Regions from separate parts of the Homo sapiens genome. Here region 1 is linked to region 2. The links are contacts of gene promoters, found by promoter capture Hi-C in blood cells and fetal thymus (Javierre and others, 2016). All regions are on one chromosome and are shown on one strand. The core of a region is centred on a gene start or on the middle of the fragment in contact, and the rest is flanking DNA. Distances in the headings are between cores, read along the strand shown. Region 1 holds the start of YIPF2 (Yip1 domain family member 2). Region 2 holds the start of ZNF653 (zinc finger protein 653).

Region 1 (4,806 bases), core at 119-2,618, 580 kb after region 2:
CCTTAAGGAGGGCCTCTGAGGCCCGATGAAAAAGGCTTATATAAAAGGCTCATGACCAGCTCTGCCAGTGATGAACATGTGTCAAGTCGTTCTGCTGTCCCCAACTCCCGGACCCAGGTGGCTCTGAATTAGCTTCAGCTAATAAAGAACAAAGACGGGGGGCAGAAAGGCTCCCCAAACTTGTGCAAATCCAGTGAGAAAACACTTTGCACATCATCTGTCTCAGCTGTTCTGCAGGTGAGGCACACTCAGAACTGCACCACCCCAGGCAAGCAGTTTGCCAGGACTCGGGGGCCTCAGGGTTTCATCTCGGGGCCTCCGCCTGCACCAGCGAGTGGGCCTGGCTCAGGGCGAGCCTGTCCTTCTTCTCCTTCTGCAAGACCTGCTCCTCCCACAGCGCCTGGTCCACCTGATCGTCGGTGAGCACGACAGGCTTGTACTTCTCATCGAAGAGCCGCTCGTTGGTCTCGGAATGCAGCTGCTGGGGCCCGACCACCCGCAAATGCGCCGGCAGGTGCAGGAATTCGTCGTCGTTGATGTCGCAGTCGCGCATCCAGGCCCCCAGCACCCACCAGCGACCCACGAAGCCCACGTCCAGGACCCGGCCGGGGAAGTCGGTCCAGCGGGGCTGCAGGTAGCGGCAACGCGCCTGGTAGAGGCTGGCCTGGGCGTCGAAGGGCGCCTCGTACACCAGCGAGCAGAGCCCCAGGTTGACGTAGCGCAGGCGGCCACGGCCCCGCAGCCAGAGCAGCCTCTGCACGAAGGCTTCGGACTCGCGGTTGCGGGTGGCCGGCGCCAGCAGCAGGAGGGTCCCCGACGCCTCCAGCAGCGCCTCCTCGAAGGCACCCTCGCTGGGCGCCAGCGTGAAGCAGGCCGCCGCGCCGCCCAGCAGACCCACATACACAGCGGCGCGCCCCGGCCGGGCCCTAGCCTCCGCCGAAGCGTCCCTGCAGGCCTCGGCGTAGTCCCGGAGCAGCGCGCGGGCCCAGGACCCTGAGGGGAGAGGAGCGCGGTAAGAGTGATCCGGCCGCGGCGGCCACCCACCCTGTCGCGGCGGCCACCCACCCTGCCGCCTTCCGCCGCTACTCACCCAGCCGCGCCCACACTCCCGGCTTCGCCACTACCGCGTCGCCCGCCTCTGCGCGGCGCCGGGACCAAAATCTCCTCAGAGCCGCCGCGGCCATCCTCTTCCGTCTTGGGGGTCCTTGCTCCGGGAAGAAACTCCTGATACCCGACGTTAAGAGCCCGGGAGTCTCTTCTGCGCAAGCGCCAACTTTACCGGAAGTGGCTTCCCAACGGGAGAGGATAGAAAGAGGACAGGCGCCGGATGTTGCTGTCAGGTCTGAGTCGGTTGGAGTCTGACGGGTAGGCGAGACGCGCAGGCGCAGAGAGCCCCAGCCACGCCGGCCCAGGTGGCCTCAGGTGAGGGGGGGCGGAGCGCACCTGTGGGGACGGGACGACGAGTTCAAGCCTCCGTGGGTGCAGTTGGTCGCCAGGTAGGGCTGGGGGCCGAGGGACCGGCTCGGGGGCGGGGGGGAAGTGTGCCTGACCGGTCTCTGTCCTCAGCGAGGGATGCGGAGACGCCCCTGAACGACCATGGCATCGGCCGACGAGCTGACCTTCCATGGTGAGTGCGGCCCCGACGTGGCCGGATCTCCCACTCCCGCCCCGGGCCAGAACCTCCCCCCGATACGGCTTCCAATTTCTCTACCCCGAAGCCTAGGCGGCTGTGAACCCTGACCCAGGAGTGAGACCCATCTCTGACTCGAACCCCGCCCCCGCCCTGAACTCAGACCTCAAACCCGAGCCTCTCGTCCCCAGACCCTGACCCCATCCCAGCGTCAACCCTAAGTTGCAGTTCCACTTTAGGAGGAAGGGAACAGATGTCCTCCGGATGCCTCCAAACTGAGGAAGTTGGGCCCCACCTTGGGGGAGATCAATGGCTCAGCAGAGCCTCCGCCCCCAGATGAGCATCGGTTTAGCTTGGGCCCAGTCGAGTTCTTTCCACCCCTCAAACGTGCGTGTGTCCCATATACCTCCTCCACAGAATTCGAGGAGGCCACTAATCTTCTGGCTGACACCCCAGATGCAGCCACCACCAGCAGAAGCGATCAGCTGACCCCACAAGGGCACGTGGCTGTGGCCGTGGGCTCAGGTGGCAGCTATGGAGCCGAGGATGAGGTGGAGGAGGAGAGTGACAAGGCCGCGGTGAGTCCCTGTGTCCTGCCTCCTTGCAGCCCCCAGCTGACCCAGGCTCTCCGGGCAGGCACTGAATGCCCGCAATGTGCAGCTCCTGCAGGAGCAGCAGCAGCAGCAGCAGCCGGGATTCTGGACCTTCAGCTACTATCAGAGCTTCTTTGACGTGGACACCTCACAGGTCAGGCTGGGGAGGCAGGTGGGATGGGGCTCAGAGTTATGCTCAGGGTTCAGCCACTCTTCCCCTGGGCAGGGTGCTGGTGATGGTGGGTGCTGGTGAACGAACTGTGGTGCTCTCAAAGGGTTATGGTGGGACTGGTTATGGATCGGGACTATGGGAACACAGGGGACACACACAATCTGGTGGGTTAGAGAAAGGCCTCCTGGGGGAGGTGAGGAATTGGCTGAGACCTAAAGGAGACAGAAGGCTTCCCTGGGGAATAGGGTAGGGAAGCAGGAGTATATGTTCCAGGCACAGGGAACAGCATATGCAGAAGACCAAAGATGGACTGGGCGCAGTGGCTCCTGCCTGTAATCCCAGCACTTAAGGGGGCCGAGGTGGGCAGATAACCTGAGGAGTTCAAGACCAGCCTGGCTAACATGGGGAAACCCCGTCTCTACCAAAAATACAAAAACTGCCGGGTGCGGGGTGGCTCATGCCTGTAATCCCAGCACTTTGAGAGGCCTGGGTGGGTGGATCACCTGAGGTCAGGAGTTTGAGACCAGCCTGGCCAAACATGGTGAAACCCCGTCTCTACTAAAAATACAACAAAATTAGCCGGGCTTTGTGGTGGGCGCCTGTAATCCCAGCTACTCTGGAGGCTGAGGCAGGAGAATCGCTTGAATCCGCCAGGCGGAGGTTGCAGTGAGCCAAGATCGTGCCAGTGCACTCCAGCCTGGGCAAAAAGAATGAGACTCTGTCTCAAAAATAAAATAAGATAAATAAAATAAAATTAAATAAAAAATAAAATAAAATAGAAAAATTAGCCAAGTGCAGTGGTCGGCGCCTGTAATCCTAGCACTTTGGGATGCCGAGGCGGTGGATCACTTGAGGTCAGGAGTTGGAGACCAGCCTGGCCAACGCGGTGAAACCCCATCTCTACTAAAAATACAAAAATTAGCCAGGCATGGTGGCACACACCTGTAGTCCCAGCTACTCAGGAGTCTGAGGCTCGAGAATCACTTGAACCTGGGAGGCGGAGGTGGTAGTGAGCCAAGATCGTGCCACTGCACTCCAGCCTGAACAGAGTGAGACTCTGTCTCAAAAAGAAAAAGGGGGTGCTGAGGCCGGGTGCGGTGGCTCACGCCTGTAATCCCAGCACTTTGGGAGGCCAAGGTGGGAGGATCATGAGGTCAGGAGATCGAGACCATCCTGGCTAACACGGTGAAACCCCATCTCTACTAAAAATACAAAAAATTAGCCGGGGGTGGTGGTGGGCGCCTGTAGTCCCTGCTCTTTGGGAGGCTGAGGCAGGAGAATGGTGTGAACCCAGGAGGCGGAGCTTGCAGTGAGCCGAGATGGCACCACTGCACTCCAGCCTGGGTGACAGAGCGAGACTCCGTCTCAAAACAAAAAAAAAAAGAGGGAAAAAAAAGAGGGGGCTGGGAACGGTGGCTCACGCCTGTAATCCCAGTACTTTGGGAGGCCGAGGTGGGTGGATTACCTGAGGTCAGGAGTTCGAGACCAGCCTGGCCAACATGGTGAAATCCCGTCTCTATTAAAAATACAACTATTAGCCAGGCGTGGTGGCACACGCCTGTAATCCCAGCTACTCGGGTGGCTGAGGTAGGAGAATTGCTTGAGCTCGGGAGGCAGAGGTTGCAGTGAGCCGAGATCATGCCACTACTCCATCCAGCCTGGCCGACAGAGCAAGACTCTGTCTCAAAAAAAAAAAAAAAAAAAAAGAGAGGGAAAGGCTGAGTTCTTTCAGGTGGGGCATGGAAAGAGAAGGGTGGAGGTCAGCAGGGAAGGAGCCTCTCAGGACAAGGGAGAAGCTCCTGGCAGACTTCCATCCTTGACCTTGGCCTTGCCCCCAGGTCCTGGACCGGATCAAAGGCTCACTGCTGCCCCGGCCTGGCCACAACTTTGTGCGGCACCATCTGCGGAATCGGCCGGATCTGTATGGTGAGTGAGGTTGTGCATTTGGTTCCTTGATGGATCACTCAACAAGTGTGGCCTGAGTTGCAGATGCCAGTGTATAGCTGCGGACAAATCAGTCACTCAGACAGTGTGACTTACCTGCTGTTCAGGGAGACAGAGACATGAAGGACTGCAGAGGGTGGCGGGTAGAGAGCAGCAGAGCAGACAGGAGGAGTGGCCCTGCAGTTCTGCAGGGTGCAGCAGGGCAGGCCTCCCTGAGGAGGGTGAGGGAATGAGCCTTGTTGGCAACAGGAGGGGTGGGGGAGACCTAGGAAAAGAGGCTTCCAGAAACGACGTAAGCTTCATGGCAGGAACTTGCATGAACTGCAGGGCGGCATTACCACTGGAGCGAGTGAGCTGCAGGGAGGTCACAGGCGAGGGGACAGATCACACAAGCCTCCCATGCTGTGGCAAGAAGAGATCTTTTTTTTTTTTTTTTGAGACAGAGTCTCACTCTGTCACCCAGGCTG
Region 2 (4,854 bases), core at 1,931-4,430:
AAAGGTATTCCTTCCCACCCTGTCCTCCACAGAGGTGAAAGCTATCATTTGCTTCTAGTGTCTCCTTCCTGGGATATTCTGTATATGTGAAGTTATTTTTCTTTTTTTAATTCACAAGCACTGAGCACTTATTATTTGCCAGGGACTGTGCTACATATTTTACAACCACCCAAAGTTAGGTTCATGCCCATAATCCTAGTGCTTTGGGAGGCCAAGGCAGGCGGATCACCTGAGGCCAGGAATTTGAGACCAGCCAGGCCAACATAGCAAAACCCTATCTCTACTAAAAATACAAAAAATTAGCCGGGCATGGTGGCAGGCGCCTGTAGTCCCAGCTACTTGGGAGGCCGACGCAGGAGAATCGCTTGAACCCAGGAGGCGGAGGCTATAGTGAGCCGAGATCATGCCATTGCACTCCAGCCTGGGTAATGAGCAAAACTCCATTTCAAAAATTAAAAAAATAAAATTAGCCAGGCATAGTGGTGTGCACCTGTAGACCCAGCTACTTGGGAGACTGAGGTAGGAAGATCACTTGAGCCCAGGAGTTCAAGGCTACAGTGAGCTATGATCATGCCACCATTCTCCAGCATGGATGACAGAGAGGGAGACCCCCATCCCTAAAAAAAAAAAAAAAATCGGAATTAAGTGCTGTTATCATCCCTATTGTGCATCTGGAGAAACTGAGGCACACAGGTACAGTGACTTGGCCAAGGTCACACAGCTTGTGACAGAGCCAGGATTTTGACAAAGGTGGGCTGGTTCTAGGGTAGTTCCCTCAGGGTGAGCATCCTAAAGATTGGTGGTTATTGCCAAATGGGACAGAGGGAGGAGGGGACAGGTTGGAGGGCCGTGTACCAGATCCAGGAGAGGTGTCCTGAATTCCCTGGTATCCCCCTTTCTGTTTCTCTGTCCCCAGTTCCTCTGTAGGGGATTGGGGGTTACAAGATTATATCCCTACTCTCCCTTGCAGGTTCCTTTGCCCAAAGACTCAACAGGTGCAGCAGATCCCCCCCAGCCCCACATCGTAGGTAAGTCCGAGAGCATGGGGGCAGCCAAGTCTCTAACCTTACCCAGGCCCTGCCAGGTTCTCGCTGGGCCTAGGCTGGGCTCCCTGGGCCTCTGGGCCGAGTCCCTTGCAGGGCACAGGGCATGTATGTCTCCACACCAGGAATCCAGAGTCCCGATCAGCAGGCCGCCCTGGCCCGCCACAATCCAGCCCGGCCTGTCTTTGTTGAGGGCCCCTTCTCCCTGTGGCTCCGCAACAAGTGTGTGTATTACCACATCCTCAGAGCTGACTTGCTGCCCCCGGAGGAGAGGGTGAGGGCTTAAAGCAAAGCATGTGTTGGGGCTGGGGAGTGGGCTGGCACTACCCTGAGGGTGCATGGGAGAGGCTGGAGGAGGGAGACCGAGAGAGCCCTGGCCTCTGACCCCGCCTGCACTCCCCACCTTGGAGTAGGAAGTGGAAGAGACGCCGGAGGAGTGGAACCTCTACTACCCGATGCAGCTGGACCTGGAGTATGTGAGGAGTGGCTGGGACAACTACGAGTTTGACATCAATGAAGGTAAAAACTGGGCCAGGTGCGGTGGCTCACATGTGTGCTCGTAATCCCAGCCCTCCTACAGGCTGAGGTGGGAGGATCACTTGAGCCCAGGAGTTGAGGTTGCAGTGAACTATTATAGAGCCACTGCACTCCAGCCTACATGATAGACCCTGTGTCAAAAAAAAAAAAAAAAAAGGCAAAAACCTGGACAGGCAGGACTTCCAAACATTCCAAACACCACCCAGGATGAGGGGCGGCCTCTGGGGTCAAGGGGTAGGCCCAGGCTGAGACGCAGTCCACTTACACCCTCGTCCTCCGGCCGCACACACTCATTTGCCCCAGGGGCTCCAGACCTGAGGTCACCCAGCCCTGTTGGCCCTTGTTCATTCCCTCCCTCCTACAACTCTGTGCTGGCTACTGGGTGTCACCAGGACAAACCTAGTCCCTCGAGTCAGCAAGGGAACAGGCAAATTACACTTTGGGGAGCTTAGGAGAGGAGCATGCCTTGAGTGGGGGGTCAGGAGGCCTTCCTGGCAGAATACAGAAAAACCAGGAGTCATCGCCCGGGTGAAGTGTGGAGTGGGCAGCCTAGGCAGCGGGGCTAGCTTGTGCAAAGGTTTGGAGGCACAAGAAAGTGGAAGGAAGCCGGGCACAGTGGCTCACGCCTGTAATCCCAGCACTCTGGGAGGCTGAGGCGGGTAGATCATTTGAGGTCAGGAATTCGAGACCAGCCTGGCCAACATGGTGAAACCCCATCTCTACTAAAAATTTAAAAATTAGCCCGGCGTGGTGCTGTGCACCTGTAATCCCAGCTCCTCGGGAGGCCGAGGCAGGAGAATCACTTGAACCTGGGAGGCGGATGTTGCAGTGAGCCGAGATCTCGCCACTGCACTCCAGCCTGGGTGACACAGCGAGACTCCGTCTCAAAAAAAAAAAAAAAAAAAAAAAGGAAGTGGAAGGGAGTGTAAAATACCTCAAAAAGGTGTAGGCATGGGTTAGCCGCTGCAGCCCCCACTGTGCAAACCTTAAGGGTGCATGTCTTCCAACAGTGGAGGAAGGCCCTGTCTTCGCCATGTGCATGGCGGGTGCTCATGACCAGGCGACGATGGCTAAGTGGATCCAGGGCCTGCAGGAGACCAACCCAACCCTGGCCCAGATCCCCGTGGTCTTCCGCCTCGCCGGGTCCACCCGGGAGCTCCAGACATCCTCTGCAGGGCTGGAGGAGCCGCCCCTGCCCGAGGACCACCAGGAAGAAGACGACAACCTGCAGCGACAGCAGCAGGGCCAGAGCTAGTCTGAGCCGGCGCGAGGGCACGGGCTGTGGCCCGAGGAGGCGGTGGACTGAAGGCATGAGATGCCCTTTGAGTGTACAGCAAATCAATGTTTTCCTGCTTGGGGCTCTCTTCCCTCATCTCTAGCAGTATGGCATCCCCTCCCCAGGATCTCGGGCTGCCAGCGATGGGCAGGCGAGACCCCTCCAGAATCTGCAGGCGCCTCTGGTTCTCCGAATTCAAATAAAAAGGGGCGGGAGCGCTGTTGGTTGTGCGCATGCGCAGTTTCCATTCTTGGTCTCCTTTTGGCGCCCTGGGGCAGCGAGAGACCGTGAGAAATTTCTCGGCGGCGCCGAAGATGCGCGCCACTTCCGGTCTGGCTCCTAACAACGGGGGAGGCTGGTAACCAGGGTGGGGGGGATGGCGGAGCGGGCGCTAGAGCCCGAGGCGGAGGCGGAGGCTGAGGCGGGCGCGGGCGGGGAGGCAGCAGCCGAGGAGGGCGCAGCGGGCCGAAAGGCGCGGGGCCGGCCGCGACTCACGGAGTCGGACCGGGCCCGGCGACGGCTCGAGTCCCGGAAGAAGTACGACGTGCGGCGCGTGTACCTGGGCGAGGCGCACGGGCCCTGGGTGGACCTGCGGCGCCGCAGCGGCTGGAGCGACGCCAAGCTCGCCGCCTACCTCATCTCTCTGGAGCGCGGCCAGCGGAGCGGCCGCCACGGGTGAGGGGGCCTGGCCCCGAGGGAGGGAGGGAGGAGACGCCCCCAGACCCCGCCGGGCTTTACCCCGCCCCCTCCGCTTCTAGGGCCAGCCCCCGGCACCTGCGGACCCCGCCCAGGAGCCGGGCCGGCGGCCTGGGTCTCGTACTGCCTGGCCGGGACGCGCCTGGCTCGTGGCCCCGCCTCCCATCGTTCCGACTGCCCAATCCTAGGGTGCACCCAGCCCCTCGACCCGCCTTCTGAGCGCTTGGCCCCGCCCGCTAGAACTCTGGCGGCCCAATCCTGGGACTGGCCCCACCTCCAGGCCTTGTAACTAACCAGGCCCTGGGGGGGCAGCCCCGCCCCCTCACCGGTCTCATCCTCCCCCGCTTAGTTCCCCACCTGGCCTGGGACTCTGGACACCCTGGGGCACTCAGCCCTGCCCTTCTTGAAGTTCTGGTGCCCCATCTGGGACTCCGTATGGCCCCATTCCCACAACCCTAGATCCAACACATCCGGGGGACCCTTCACAACCTGGACTGCACTCCCCTAAACCTATTTCTGTGAAGCAACTCAGCCCAGGGAGACTCGGATGAAGAGGAAACCCCTAGTTAGCTTGGCAGGTGGAGGGCAGAGAGGCCTGTCTTTGTAAATTCTCAGTCTTGAGAAGGAGCAGTGTGGATGGAGTTTTTCCCTTCCTGCCTTATATGTTGATGTGATGATTGAGTTAAAATAGGCAAAGAGCTTAGAAGAGTGCCTGGCAGGTAGTGGGTTCCCTAAGTATTAACTTTTACGAGGATGACGTTTATTCCGTATCACAAGCAGTGCCGCAAGGAAATCCTTGTTCTGCCCTGGTTTTCAGGTACACATGTTCTCATGTTTCTCTGGGGGGAGATTCTGAGAGTCAAGAATCAAACAGATCCTGCTAAGTTATACCCACCCCTTTCCCAGGACAGCAGGCTGGCTTATATGCTCAAGAGCAGGACTGGAAATGCTGGGAGCGCAAAGATACCTGCCTCATGGAGCGGACATTCTGGTGGGCAGAGGGGATGGCTTGTTCAAAGGTCTGGGGGGTTTTTTTGTTCGTTTTTCTTTTCTTTTCTTTTTTTTTGAGACAGAGTCTTGCTCTGTCGCCCAGGCTGGAGTGCAGTGGCACGATCTCCGTTCACTGCAAGCTCCGCCTCCCGGGTTCACGCCATTCTCCTGCCTCAGCCTCCCAAGTAGCTGGGACTGCAGCCGCCCGCCACCACGCCCGGCTAATTTTTTGTATTTTTAGTAGAGACAGGGTTTTACTCTGTTAGCCAGGATGGCCTCGATCTCCTGACCTCGTGATCCACCCGCCTCGGC

What was found. Contacts are between HindIII fragments. The CHiCAGO score rates a contact against its expected background, and 5 or more counts as called.
Region 1: a contact is called between the fragment with the promoter of YIPF2 here and the fragment with the promoter of ZNF653 in region 2, in 1 of 17 cell types (neutrophils). The highest score is 7.5, in neutrophils.

Annotation. Positions count from the first base shown.
Region 1 is chr19:10,925,201-10,930,006 of GRCh38, reverse strand. YIPF2 (Yip1 domain family member 2) reads left to right here and starts at 1,368. Exons shown (of 10, transcript NM_001321439.2): 1 at 1,368-1,496; 2 at 1,567-1,627; 3 at 2,048-2,208; 4 at 2,291-2,377; 5 at 4,234-4,321. The coding sequence starts at 1,597. It overlaps TIMM29 (translocase of inner mitochondrial membrane 29), which reads right to left and starts at 1,196. Exons shown (of 2, transcript NM_138358.4): 1 at 1,091-1,196; 2 at 1-993. The coding sequence starts at 1,184. The coding sequence ends at 305. RefSeq lists silencers at 751-800, 841-1,120 and enhancers at 1,334-2,034, 2,035-2,737. The HindIII fragment of the contact is 36,725 bases long and covers 1-4,638 here.
Region 2 is chr19:11,504,165-11,509,018 of GRCh38, reverse strand. It overlaps ZNF653 (zinc finger protein 653), which reads left to right and starts at 3,180. Exons shown (of 9, transcript NM_138783.4): 1 at 3,180-3,531. The coding sequence starts at 3,233. ECSIT (ECSIT signaling integrator) reads left to right here. Exons shown (of 8, transcript NM_016581.5): 5 at 971-1,028; 6 at 1,169-1,317; 7 at 1,457-1,562; 8 at 2,591-3,090. The coding sequence ends at 2,835. RefSeq lists enhancers at 785-1,562, 4,015-4,084 and silencers at 2,985-3,034, 3,195-3,864. The HindIII fragment of the contact is 17,773 bases long and covers 1-4,854 here.